Linked DNA regions of Homo sapiens: regions 1 and 3 are each linked to region 2. The links are contacts of gene promoters, found by promoter capture Hi-C in blood cells and fetal thymus (Javierre and others, 2016). All regions are on one chromosome and are shown on one strand. The core of a region is centred on a gene start or on the middle of the fragment in contact, and the rest is flanking DNA. Distances in the headings are between cores, read along the strand shown.

Region 1 (4,063 bases), core at 536-3,035, 360 kb after region 2:
TTAAGGACTCTGGATCCCTACCATATCCTGGAACATGACAGGTATTCAATTAAATGTGAGGGAAAGGAAAGAAGGATTGATTAGGCTGGAAAGATTATGCTAATGCCACAATACTGAAGGTTCTAGAAAAATAAGGAACCAGAAATCAAAGTGAGAGGTGCTTTCTTTTTTTATAATTTTTTTTTAAGACAGGGTCTTGCTATGTTGCCCAGGCTGGTCTGAAACTCCTAGCCTCAAGTGATCCTCCAACCTTTGCCTCCCAAAGTGTTCGGATTACAGGGGTGAGCCACCATGCCCATACTGAATTATTTACTTAATGCAGATTCTTTGGGTTCCAACAACGATAGGATGATGATGATGATGATGACGACGATGACATATTCTGTGTGAGAGCAGGATGAACATGACAGTCCCAGCTTTAGGGAACTAACAGGTGGCTGGGTGAGCAGATTGTCTAAGGCTCATGTGGTAGGCAGCCCAGGTCTCCTGAATCCTAGGTGAGGTCCCTCCCAGCTAGGTGGGACAGCTTCCTCCCAGAGGCCAGAGGTGCTTTCTATCCACCATTTTTTTTTTTTTTTTTTGAGACAGGGTCTTGCTTTGTCATCCAGGCTGGACTGCAGTGGCACGATCATGGCTTACTGCAGCCTTGACCTCCTGGGCTCAAATGATCCTTCTACCTCAGCCTCCTGAGTAGCTGGGATCACAGGCACATGCCACTACACCTGGCTAACTTTTTTTATTTTTAGTAGAGACGAGGTCATGCTACATTGCGCAGGCTGGTCTTGAACTCCTAGGTTCAAGCAATCCTCTCACCTTGGCCTTCCAAAGTGCTAGGATTACAAGTGTGAGCCACCAAGGCTAAGGCTAGCCTCCATCCACCTCTTGATATACGCAAGACAGTGATTCTCCAAAGACTCCTCACCTTGTTTCAAGCTGAGTCAACAAAAATCCTCTCACGTACTACCATGAATGTAGCTGGGAAACACTGCCCTAAGCAGTAGAAAAGTTTGGGGAGAGGGGGGCAGTTGTTTATCAACCCATCAACAACTACTTATCTGCCATTCCAGTGCTTCCACAAATTCTTAGAGATCAACAATATCCTGCGTCTTATTTTTAACATATTTCTGGGTAGGGCAATAAGGAGCAGAAGTCACTGGGAGTAACCATGGTAGACGTAACTGGGAGCATGGTGGGTTTCAGGAAATGTAAGATCCCTCTTTTCCTTATCAATCCTTCCTTCATAAGCACTTTCTATTTCCTCCAGTCTGACACTTCCTGCATTATAATCAGTGTTTCTATAGGACTTCGTAATTTTCAAAGGCTTTTGAATTCCATCTTATTTAACCTTCATCACCACCTTTATAAACAAAGCATATCCTAGTAGCCCATCCCTGCGGATGAAAAAGCCTAAATCCGTAGACTGAATGAAGATAGGGAAAGAGACCCTATTACAGTTACTGGTGTCAATAATAAATAGCACAGGTAGAAGAATGCTTCCAGTGTGCCATTCCTTGTAGGCTGTCTTCTAGCTGTTTCATTGTGCAGGCAGAGTGCGCATCCTACACTTCTCAATGCTGGCAATAATAGAAGTAATACTACTTATCAAATGGATGTTTAACCAAAGTTGGGAGATAACTATCAGACTTTAAAGCTCTCTTCCTAAAAAGACCATAATTTAATATAGCAGTTTTCATAAGAAAGATGTTAACTGCAACACTCCCCAATTATTATCTTCTAAAATACATTATAAGAGGACATAAAGAGGACTGTTAAATAATCAAGAATGAATTCACTATTTCTAAAAATGCTTTACCAGCCTGGACAACCCAGTGAGACCCCATCTCTGCAAAAAATTTTAAAAATTAGCTGGACATGGTGGCACATGCCTATAATCCCAGCACTCTGGGAAGCCGTGATGGGAGGACTGTTTGAGTCCAGGAGTTTGAGAACAGCCTGGGCAACACTGTGAAACCCCATCTTTATAAAAAATAAAAATAAGCTAGCTAGGCATGGTGGTGCACACTCGTGGTCCCAGCTACTCAGGAGACTGAGGTAGGAGGATTGCTTAAGCCTGAGAGGTCGAGGTTGCGGTGAGCTGTGATCGTGCCACTGTACTCCAGCCTGGGTGACACAGCCTGACCCTGCTTCAGAAAAACAAAGACAAAAAAGAACAAACACCAGAGGTATGTGTCCTGCGGTAAAGTGCAGGGATGGTGGCGGTGGATTTAGATGCGGTGGGAACATCTAAGGAAAACTGGGCTCTGCTGCAGCTCTACTCCCAACAAATTTTGATGATCCTCAGGCAAGACACAAAGACATGCTATAAACTGAAATTTGTTACCATATACTTTTTTTTTTTTTTAAAGACAGTCTCGCTCTGTCACTCAGGTTGGAGTGCACTGGCACGATCTCGGCTCACTGCAACCTCCGCCTCCCAGGTACAAGCGATTCTCCCACCTCAGCCTCCCCAGTAGCTGGGATTACAGGTGTGCGCCACCATGCCCAGCTAATTTTTGAATTATTTATTCCTTTTTTTCTTTTCTTTTCTTTTTTTGAGACAGCGTCTTCCTCTGTTGCCCAGGCTGGAAGGCAGTGGTACAATCTCGGCTCACTGCAACCTCCACCTCCTGGGTTCAAGTGATTCTTCTGCCTCAGCTTCCTGAGTAGCTGGGATTACAGGTGCCCACCACCATGCCCGGCTAATTTTTGTATTTTTAGTAGAGACGGGGTTTCACCATGTTGACCAGGCTGGTCTCAAACTCCTGACCTCAGGTGATCCACCTGTCTCGGCCTCCCAAAGTGCTGGGATTATGAGCCACCATGCCTGGCCTACTTTTTGTATTTTTAGTAGAGACTGGCTTTCACCATGTTGGCCAGGCTGGCCTCGAACTCCTGACCTCAAGAGATCCACCTGCTTCGGCGTCCCAAAGTGCTGGGATTACATGCCTGAGCCACCGTACCTGGCTTGTTACCATATACTTTTATAGCACAGTACTTCACATTGATTAAAGAACTCTCATACTAACTGTGTCATTTAACATACACAACCACCAAGCAAAGGAGACAGGACAAACAGTAGCATCCCATTTCCAAGGCTGAGTGCAGTAATGGAAAAAATAAGAGTTTTTATGAATAAGACAATCTGAGTTCAAATCCCAGGCATCTTGTTCAACTTTTCAGAGGCTTTGTTTCATCCTAAGTAAAGTGTAGACAGTACATACACCTCATGGTCTTTTAGAATGAGTCAAGGATTGAGTACTGCACGTATACAGTACTCAATGTTTCCTTCCATCATTCCACAGAAGGAAGGGCTACAAGTTCACACACCTACTCTGACTTTAAAGCTCCAAGCAGATTATCTTTCAACTCCCATGCTCAACCTTTCCGTGCTCAGATTCAAGAATGTAACTCAGCATCTCTTTAAAAGGTGTTTAAAAGATTAGTCACTGAGATACTCTACTAAAAGTTTTTTGTTCAAGTAGATTTGTGAAATGTCACTCTCTTGAAATCTCACAAAGTGTGTATGTGTGTATATATATGTATGATACCGAAGGTTCTGAGAAGTCTTGCAATAAAGAAATCTATTTGAACTCATTCTAACTAGCATTTCCCAAAAGTGCATTTAATGGAATCCTTTTTTACATAATTACCATAAACATCCACACAGACCTAACTTTCTTTTAAACATACTTTTAGGAAAAATGGTTTTGATAAATTCATGTCTAACAAATTATAATAATAGATTAGATTATAATAGATTAACAATATTAATAACAATAGATATTATTATAGGACAGGGCACAAGAAATTATCCTTTAAACAAGATCCCTAAATCATTCTTTTGCAGCCTGCATTGAAATTGCACATTGCCTAGCGTCAAATTCAGAAAAATTTATTTAGGCAACTAAGACATTTTTATTTTTGGATTTCAGAATAAGTCTGCCACAGACACAAAGATTCCAAGAAGTGGCTCATAATGTCATCTAGCAGAAGACACACTTGGGGAAAAAGGTGGGGGAGGGGTATTATGTTTTGTTGCAAAATTGATTTTGTATGAGGTTTC
Region 2 (3,752 bases), core at 251-2,750:
AACAGACAGATGAAAATCGCACCCTCCAGCTTCATGTTCCACTGTCTGACTGGTCATTATATAGGGCCGACATTTATCTGGTCTCCAGGCAAATTCTATAATTTCAGCTCCGTCTGAAGCAACACAGTAACACTGACTCAGTGGCCTAGATTCCACAAGTGCCACATACCTTGCTTTAGCTTAAATCAGGCATTGTTTTGTCTGGCTGCTAGGACTGGCTCAGGTCTGCTAACAATAAGATGCTTATGCATGGCCCTTTCATGCAGTCAGTCTTTTAAATTTTTTTGCCTCTCTTGAAATCCTGGAAATGATTCCTAACAACGGTTAATCTAAAAATCAGCTGGTTTTGGTCAATATAATGGCGCCCCTTCGAACTCACATTCATGGAATATGGAAGCTGGAAGGAAGAGTAGAAACTAGTTCTGCTTCTCAGGTAAGGAAATCCGTGCCCAGAGAGTTGGGCTGGGTTCCAGCCAGTTAAAACTAGAACTCAGAGATGCTGTCCCGAGCCCTTTTACTTCTGCTGCCTGCCCGCAATTGCGGTCACACCTGCTTCAGACACTTCCAGCTCAATCCTCCCTCCATTTTCTGTGCAACTAGGGTCCTCTCTGGAGAGCTCTTAAGCCATCAGCTCTAGGAGAGAAGTGGGCAGACACAAATCTTTCACAGGTTAATTTTCCTTGGAACATTCTGGGTGATTTTTTTGTAAAGCCCGATTCTCAATGGTGTTGATTTCAGGGTAGTGTTCCTCACTGAGAGCTAAGGAGGCGTTGCAGAAGTGCGCTGATTAGCTAGAATTGACCATAAACAGAGTGGCGCGGCGGATGGGCAAAGGGTGGGCAGCGAACTGGCCCAAATCATCTGTGCATCACCTCACAAGCACCAACTGAGCACTTACTGTGTGCCTGGGTAATCCACAGCTGCCTAATTAAGAACGAGCAGCTGCCTTCCAACCCTCCCCTGGCCCGAGGAGCCCTACTAACTGGCAGATTGAGGGACTTCTGATTCTCATCGTGGGTCTGGCCTTAACTAGGGTCGCGACTCCAAGCAAGTATTTAAAATTCTCCAACCCAGGTGGCCTGAGGCTTGAGAAGAAATAAAAGGCTTCTCAAAGGGATGACAGTTTCGGGAAGTTTTTTTTTGGGGGGGGGACTGGAAAAATACCATAAAAGGCATTTTGGGGGTCACACACACACAAGAGCAGAAGCGCTGTGAGCCGCCCTGCAGGCTCCCTGCCCCGGGAGCCACCTTCCACCCGCCCCCGGGCGGAGGCGGCCAACTCCCGCCCAGCGGGCTCCCCAGTTCGGCCCCGAAAAGCCGAAAGGGGGGCGCCTTTGTCTATAAGCGCCGCACGGGCGCTCCTGATTGGCTGTAGCTAAGCAGGGCTTTCTTCCGCGCTCCTTCGGAGCGCTCCCTCCAGCGTCGCCGGCCCCGTTCCATTTTCACAGCTCCTCCTCCCCGGCCGCGCGCCCCTCCCGCCCCGCGCGCGCCTCCTCTTTCTCGCGGCCGAGTTCAGCCCGGGCAGCCATATGGGGGATACGCCAGCAACAGACGCCGGCCGCCAAGATCTGCATCCCTAGGCCACGCTAAGACCCTGGGGAAGAGCGCAGGAGCCCGGGAGAAGGGCTGGAAGGAGGGGACTGGACGTGCGGAGAATTCCCCCCTAAAAGGCAGAAGCCCCCGCCCCCACCCTCGAGCTCCGCTCGGGCAGAGCGCCTGCCTGCCTGCCGCTGCTGCGGGCGCCCACCTCGCCCAGCCATGCCAGGCCCGGCCACCGACGCGGGGAAGATCCCTTTCTGCGACGCCAAGGAAGAAATCCGTGCCGGGCTCGAAAGCTCTGAGGGCGGCGGCGGCCCGGAGAGGCCAGGCGCGCGCGGGCAGCGGCAGAACATCGTCTGGAGGAATGTCGTCCTGATGAGCTTGCTCCACTTGGGGGCCGTGTACTCCCTGGTGCTCATCCCCAAAGCCAAGCCACTCACTCTGCTCTGGGGTAAGTCCCGCCGGCGCCCCCTGCGCCCCGGCCTCCGTGGCCAGGCCGCGCTGGGGCGCGCGAGGTCGCCGCTCGCCCCTCGGCTGCGGGCGGTGCGCAGCGACCCCCGGTCTCCCCTCGCCTCCCGCTGCGCGCCGCGGCCCCCTTGGCATCCAGTTTTCCGTCCCTTGGGACGGGCAGGTGTTTCTGTCCCAGTATTTCAACTTCCGCCCCCCCCCCGCCCCCACCCCGCCGCGGTCTGCCTGAGGAAGCGCATTTGCCGGCTTCCCGATGGAGAGCCGGGGGGGACCCGGAGTCCTGCGGTGCCACCGCTGTGCGCAGAGGCGCGCGAAGGGAGAGGCTCGGCACAGGCTGAATCGGCTCCCAGCGAGGGAGGACGGGCGGGCGATTGTGTCACCTCTGCGGTCCCTGGGGCTCTCCTATCCCCCCCATCACCTCCGCGGGTCACGGACCTTGGGGACAGAGATGAGGACAAGTAAGGGAGTTGGACCGGGGAGGAGAGACCCGGCACAGGATAGAGTCTTGGTTTACGCGCACCAGATGGAAGATACCGGTTCCCCTCTTGCCTCTCCAAGGCCCCTGTCCCTGCCCCCTCCGCAATCTTCTATGCCCATTTGCAGTTCTCGGTGAAGTTTCTCGGTGAGCAAACCGATCCCATGGCGAGAGCGGTCTGACCCTAGCACGAAGCTCCGACTGTGGCTGTGCAGAGCCTTCTCCAAACCCTGTTCCCATGTGGCCAGTGGGAACCTGTGGCTCTCCTGGTACCCTCCTTCCGTGCACCCCCACTCCTGCCAGTAGGGAAGGGAGCCCGGGCGCCGACCACCATTCCCCTTCCCCTGGGCCCCAGGGACTGCGTGCCCACCCTACACGACCCCAGTCGTTGATCTTTGAACCACTTCGCAGCCGCCCTGGCCGCAATAACTGGTTTTGGCCTCCTTTACTGAAGCGGCAGTAGCCAGGACAAAAGGCACAGGCATTGATATGCTGAGTGAGAATTTGACGAGGTAATCCAAGATGCCCTTCCAGCTCCCGTTTCCCTGATCTCTAGGGGCGGGCAGGAGAAACACAACCTACTTTTATTTCCAGAGGGGAAGAGGAAGGAAGAAAATAAGACCTCTTTCTACAGGGCTTTTTTGGCATGGTGCCAGCTGCAAATGCCTAGGTAGATAATGGGGCCACTATGGTTCCAAGCCTTCCCTTGAAATCCTGCAGTCCCTGCTCTTGGAAGTAAACCCATCCAGAAGTGGGTACCTCTTAGGGGGTGTGGCTCAGGGAGGGCATAGCAGAGTTGACGGATGGTGAGAGAGGTAGGATCTTTGGGGATCCCTAAAGCCTTTAAAGTCTCCCCAAAGCTCTGGGAAATCTCCTGCTTCATCTTTCCTTCTCTCAGTGCACCTCCTCATTTCTGTGTCCTTTTCACCATCACCTTTATGTGTTGGTTTAATTCTCCAACTGACTGTAGACTGTATGATGTTCAGCTGTTGCTTCATCAACACACTCCGACACTGCCAACCAAAGCCCTTATTGCCCAGAGTTCTCCAACAAGCTCCTCTCTCCCCCCTGCTTCCAGAGGCAGGGCTGGGCTTGGTCCTCAGAGCCTGGTGACCTCTAGGGGATTGAGGCTTATCTTTAATAGCTGTGGTGTTCAGAGAGTGCTCAGGGAAAAGTGAGCACTTAAAATATTATCTTACATGCCTAGGGCTCACTGGCTCCACTTCTTACAGCCTCTGAGCCCCAAGACCCTGGCACTGGACCAGGAGCC
Region 3 (3,735 bases), core at 539-3,038, 310 kb after region 2:
TAAAGAAGGTGGCTCCGGCCCCTGCTGTCATGAAGAAGCAGGAGGCCAAGAAAGTGGTGAATCCCTGGTTTGAGAAAAGGCCTAAGAATTTTGGCATTGGACAGGACATCCAGCCCAAAAGTGACCTCACTCGCTTTGTGAAATTGCCCCGCTATATCAGGTTGCAGTGGCAGACAGCCATCCTCTATAAGCGGCTGCAATTAACCTCTGTAAGTGCTTTCTGCAATTAACCAGTTCACCCAGGCCCTGGATGCCAAGCAGCTACTCAGCTGCTTAAGCTAGCCCACAGGTACAGACCAGAGACAAAGCAAGAGAAGAAGCAGAAGCTGTTGGCCCAGGCTGAGAAGAAAGCTGCCTGCAAAGAGGACGTCCCCACTAAGAGACCACCTGCCCTTCGAGTAGGAGTTAACACTGTCACCACCTTGGTGGAAAACAAAAAGGCTCAGCTGGTGGTGATTGCACACGATGTGGATCCCATCGAGCTAGCTGTCTTCCTGCCTGCCCTGTGTCGTAAAATGGGGGTCTCTTGCTGCATTATCAAGAGGAAGGCAAGACTGGGACGTCTAGTCCACAGGAAGACCTGCACCACTGTTGTCTTCACACAGGTTAACTTGGAAGACAAAGGAGCTTTGGCTAAGCGGGTGGAAGCTATCAGGACCAATTACAAAAACAGATCCGATGAGATCCGCCATCACTGGGGAGGCAATGTCCTGGGTCCCAAGTCTGTGGCTCACATTGCTAAGCTCAAAAAGGCAAAGGCTAAAGAACTTGCCACCAAGCTGGGTTAAATATACACTGTTGAGTTTTCTGTACTTAAAAAACAATTAAAGTAATACAAATTTTCCTTCAAAACAAACAAATTAGCCAGGCATGGTGGCATGTACCTGTGGTCCCAGCTACTCCAGAGGCTGAGGTGGGAGGATCGCTTTGAGCCAGGGAGCCGTGATCACGCCACTGTATTTTAGCCTGGGAGACAGAGTAAAGACCCTGTCTCAAAACAAACAAACAAACCAAAACAAAAACAAACAAACAAAAAAAACCATGTCCAAATTCCTGGTCTAATTTTCTTATCCTGGAAAAGTTTGGGGTGTATGCTTGTAGAAACATTTCTTTTTCTGTAACTCTCCTTCTGTTTTCTTTTACTTTTTCTACACAAATGTTTTTAAGGGTTGGGGGTATTATTTATTTCCTTCATCCCCTCAGAGTTCAAACCATTTGAGAATAGAACGAAGAGCTAATCTTTCTGCAATCTATCATCCCATTATTGGGATATTTCTTTTCCTATCTTTTCCCCTCATATATTCATTCCTTCAACTTGCCTGTCTTCTTTGCTGAATGGGCCTTCATGTGTCATTATCCATTCATCCCTAAGCTCACAAATGATGAAGAAATCCATAACGTCGGAACTTCCTTGACCTTTGGATTTGGCACATTGACCTGCTGGATCCAGGCTGCGCTGACACTCAAGGTCAACATCAAGAATGAAGGACGGAGAGTTGGAATTCCACGGGTTATTCTGTCGGCATCTATCACTCTCTGTGTGGTCCTCTGTATCCTTTGAACGTGAAAAGCTTCTTTTGCCAGTAAGATGAAAACAAGTAAGTTGTCTCTGTAGAAGAACCCAGTGGGTTAGGATATTCTGCCAGATCTTCTCAGAATCTTAAGGCAAAGGTAAACAGGTATAAAAACAAAAACCCTCAGACCAATTTTTCATGCCAAAGGGGAGATGGAGAAATAAAAATAAAACAAGGTCTGCCCTCTCCAGATTGTTTCAATCTGCAGGAATGGTGTCATACATTCTCATTTCACTAATGATGTAAAAGTTCTTATTTGTGAAAATCAGAGAATGCACAGCCAAAAGAGAATTGCCATTTTTTTCCTCCAGCTTAAAAAAATGCATTTGTGACTTTATTAATGGCCCTGTTATTTCATTTCATTTATTAGCTCTGAAATGAATTTCAGAGGACCAATACATTTATATATTTCAGGAAAATAATGAAGCTTTTCTGGAAGACAAATTCAAGCACTAGATTAAGGCTGCATGTGTAGTTTTCCTCCAATATTTGAGGTTTTGGGGTGCTATTCATTTCCCTTCCTCCGCTCAGAGTTTGAACCAATTGAGAATAGATGCTAGGAGCCAGGTGGGGATGAAGAAATCAGCCTTTATCCTAGTAAACCTGGAAAGGAAAATGCTGCAGGTCTCCTCTCTCACACCTTGGAATTCAACTTAACCACCCAGTAACAAGCAGAGAAACCAGGGAAAGGCAGAGGAGAGCACCTCACTCCGCTTAGCCCCACACAGATCCCAGAGAGAGTCTAGCTTAGGATGGAGTGCAGTGGCCTCACCTACTGGTAGTGTGGCCCAATAGAAGCCTGCCAGTTCCCATCCCACCAATCAGATCAGTCACTCATTCCATGGAGTGGAGTAATCAGAAGTGTTCAACACTTGGGGAGGCAGAGGCAGGAAGATCACTTGAAGTCAGGAGCTCAAGATCCACCTGGACAACAAAGGGAGACCCTGTCTCTACAAAAAAAAAAAAAAAAAAAATCTAAAAATCCGCTGGGTGTTGTGGCGAGCACCTGTAATCCCAGCTACTGGGGAGGCTGAGGTGGGCTGGCTTGAGCCCAGGAGTTTAAGGCTGCAGCGAGCTAAGATCGACTCTGTCTCTAACAATAAATAAATAAATAATAAAGGCCTGGTGCCGTGGCTCATGCTGTAATCCTAGCACTTTGGGAGGCTGAGGCAGGAGGATTGCTTAAGCCCAGGAGTTCAAGACCAGCCTGGGCAAGATAGCAAAACCTGGTCTCTATAAAAATTTGTTTTAGAAAAATTAGCAGGGTGTGGTGGTGTGCACCTGTAGTCCAAGCTACTTGGGAGGCTTGCGGGGAGGATCACTTGATCCCAGGAATTTGAGGCTGCAGTGAGTTGTGATCATGCCACTGCAATCCAGCCTGGGTGACAGAGTGAGACCCTGACTCAAAAAATAAAATAAAATAAAAGGCAAAAATAAAAGAAGTGTTCACTCCAGTAAGGCCCTCCTCAGAAAACCAGAGAAAGGAATCAAGGTTCCTAAAGGGTAGATTGTACAGAAAATGCAATTACACATCTTCAGTCATAATAATCACCAATTTTTAGACAGCGTGCTAGGCATTATTCTAAGTACTTTAAATGTATCAACTCTTTTTATCCTCACTTCACATGTAAGAACAGTGAATCATGGAGAAGTTTAATTTGCGCAAGATCACACAGATAATGCGTGGTGGATCGAGATTTAAACTCAGGCTCAGCTCTTCACTCTTAACCACTTCAGACCCCACCTTAGAGAAAGTAGCTTTAGAATGAAACAATGGCATTCGCAGCAACCTGGTTGGAATTGGAGACCATTATTCTAAGTGAAGTAACTCAGGAATGAAAAACCAAACATCCTGTGTTCTCACTCATAAGTGGGAGCTAAGCTGTGAGGACACAAAGGCATAAGAATGACACAGTGGACTTTGGGGACTCAGGGGAAAGGATGGGAGGGGGATGAGGGATAAAAGACTACAAATTGGGTGCACTATACACTGCTTGGGTGGTGGGTGCACCAAAATCCCAGAAATCATCACTAAAGAACTTATTCATGCAACCAAACACCACCTGTTCCCCAAAATCCTATTGAAATATAAATAAATAAATAAATATAAATAAAAAGTTCAAAATAGCTAGAAAGAAATAAAGTATATCAATTCAAAGAA

Evidence for each region. Contacts are between HindIII fragments. The CHiCAGO score rates a contact against its expected background, and 5 or more counts as called.
Region 1: a fragment that was not itself captured here is called in contact with the fragment with the promoter of SCD5 in region 2 in 1 of 17 cell types (M2 macrophages); the score reaches 5.0 in M2 macrophages.
Region 3: a contact is called between a fragment that was not itself captured here and the fragment with the promoter of SCD5 in region 2, in 4 of 17 cell types (M1 macrophages, M2 macrophages, megakaryocytes and 1 more). The highest score is 7.1, in M1 macrophages.

What each region holds. Positions count from the first base shown.
Region 1 is chr4:82,433,205-82,437,267 of GRCh38, reverse strand. The region is part of intron 1 of ENOPH1 (enolase-phosphatase 1); the gene reads right to left. Among named protein-coding and RNA genes, the nearest start is that of ENOPH1, 4.6 kb to the right of the region's middle. The HindIII fragment of the contact is 7,870 bases long and covers 1-4,063 here.
Region 2 is chr4:82,796,544-82,800,295 of GRCh38, reverse strand. It overlaps SCD5 (stearoyl-CoA desaturase 5), which reads left to right and starts at 1,500. Exons shown (of 5, transcript NM_001037582.3): 1 at 1,500-1,990. The coding sequence starts at 1,759. RefSeq lists enhancers at 342-1,058, 1,059-1,776, 2,753-3,274 and silencers at 1,145-1,564, 1,895-1,944. The HindIII fragment of the contact is 16,836 bases long and covers 1-3,752 here.
Region 3 is chr4:82,487,876-82,491,610 of GRCh38, reverse strand. TMEM150C (transmembrane protein 150C) reads left to right here. Exons shown (of 8, transcript NM_001080506.3): 7 at 1,373-1,550. It also overlaps the pseudogene RPL7AP26. Among named protein-coding and RNA genes, the nearest start is that of ENOPH1, 59 kb to the right of the region's middle. The HindIII fragment of the contact is 430 bases long and covers 1,574-2,003 here.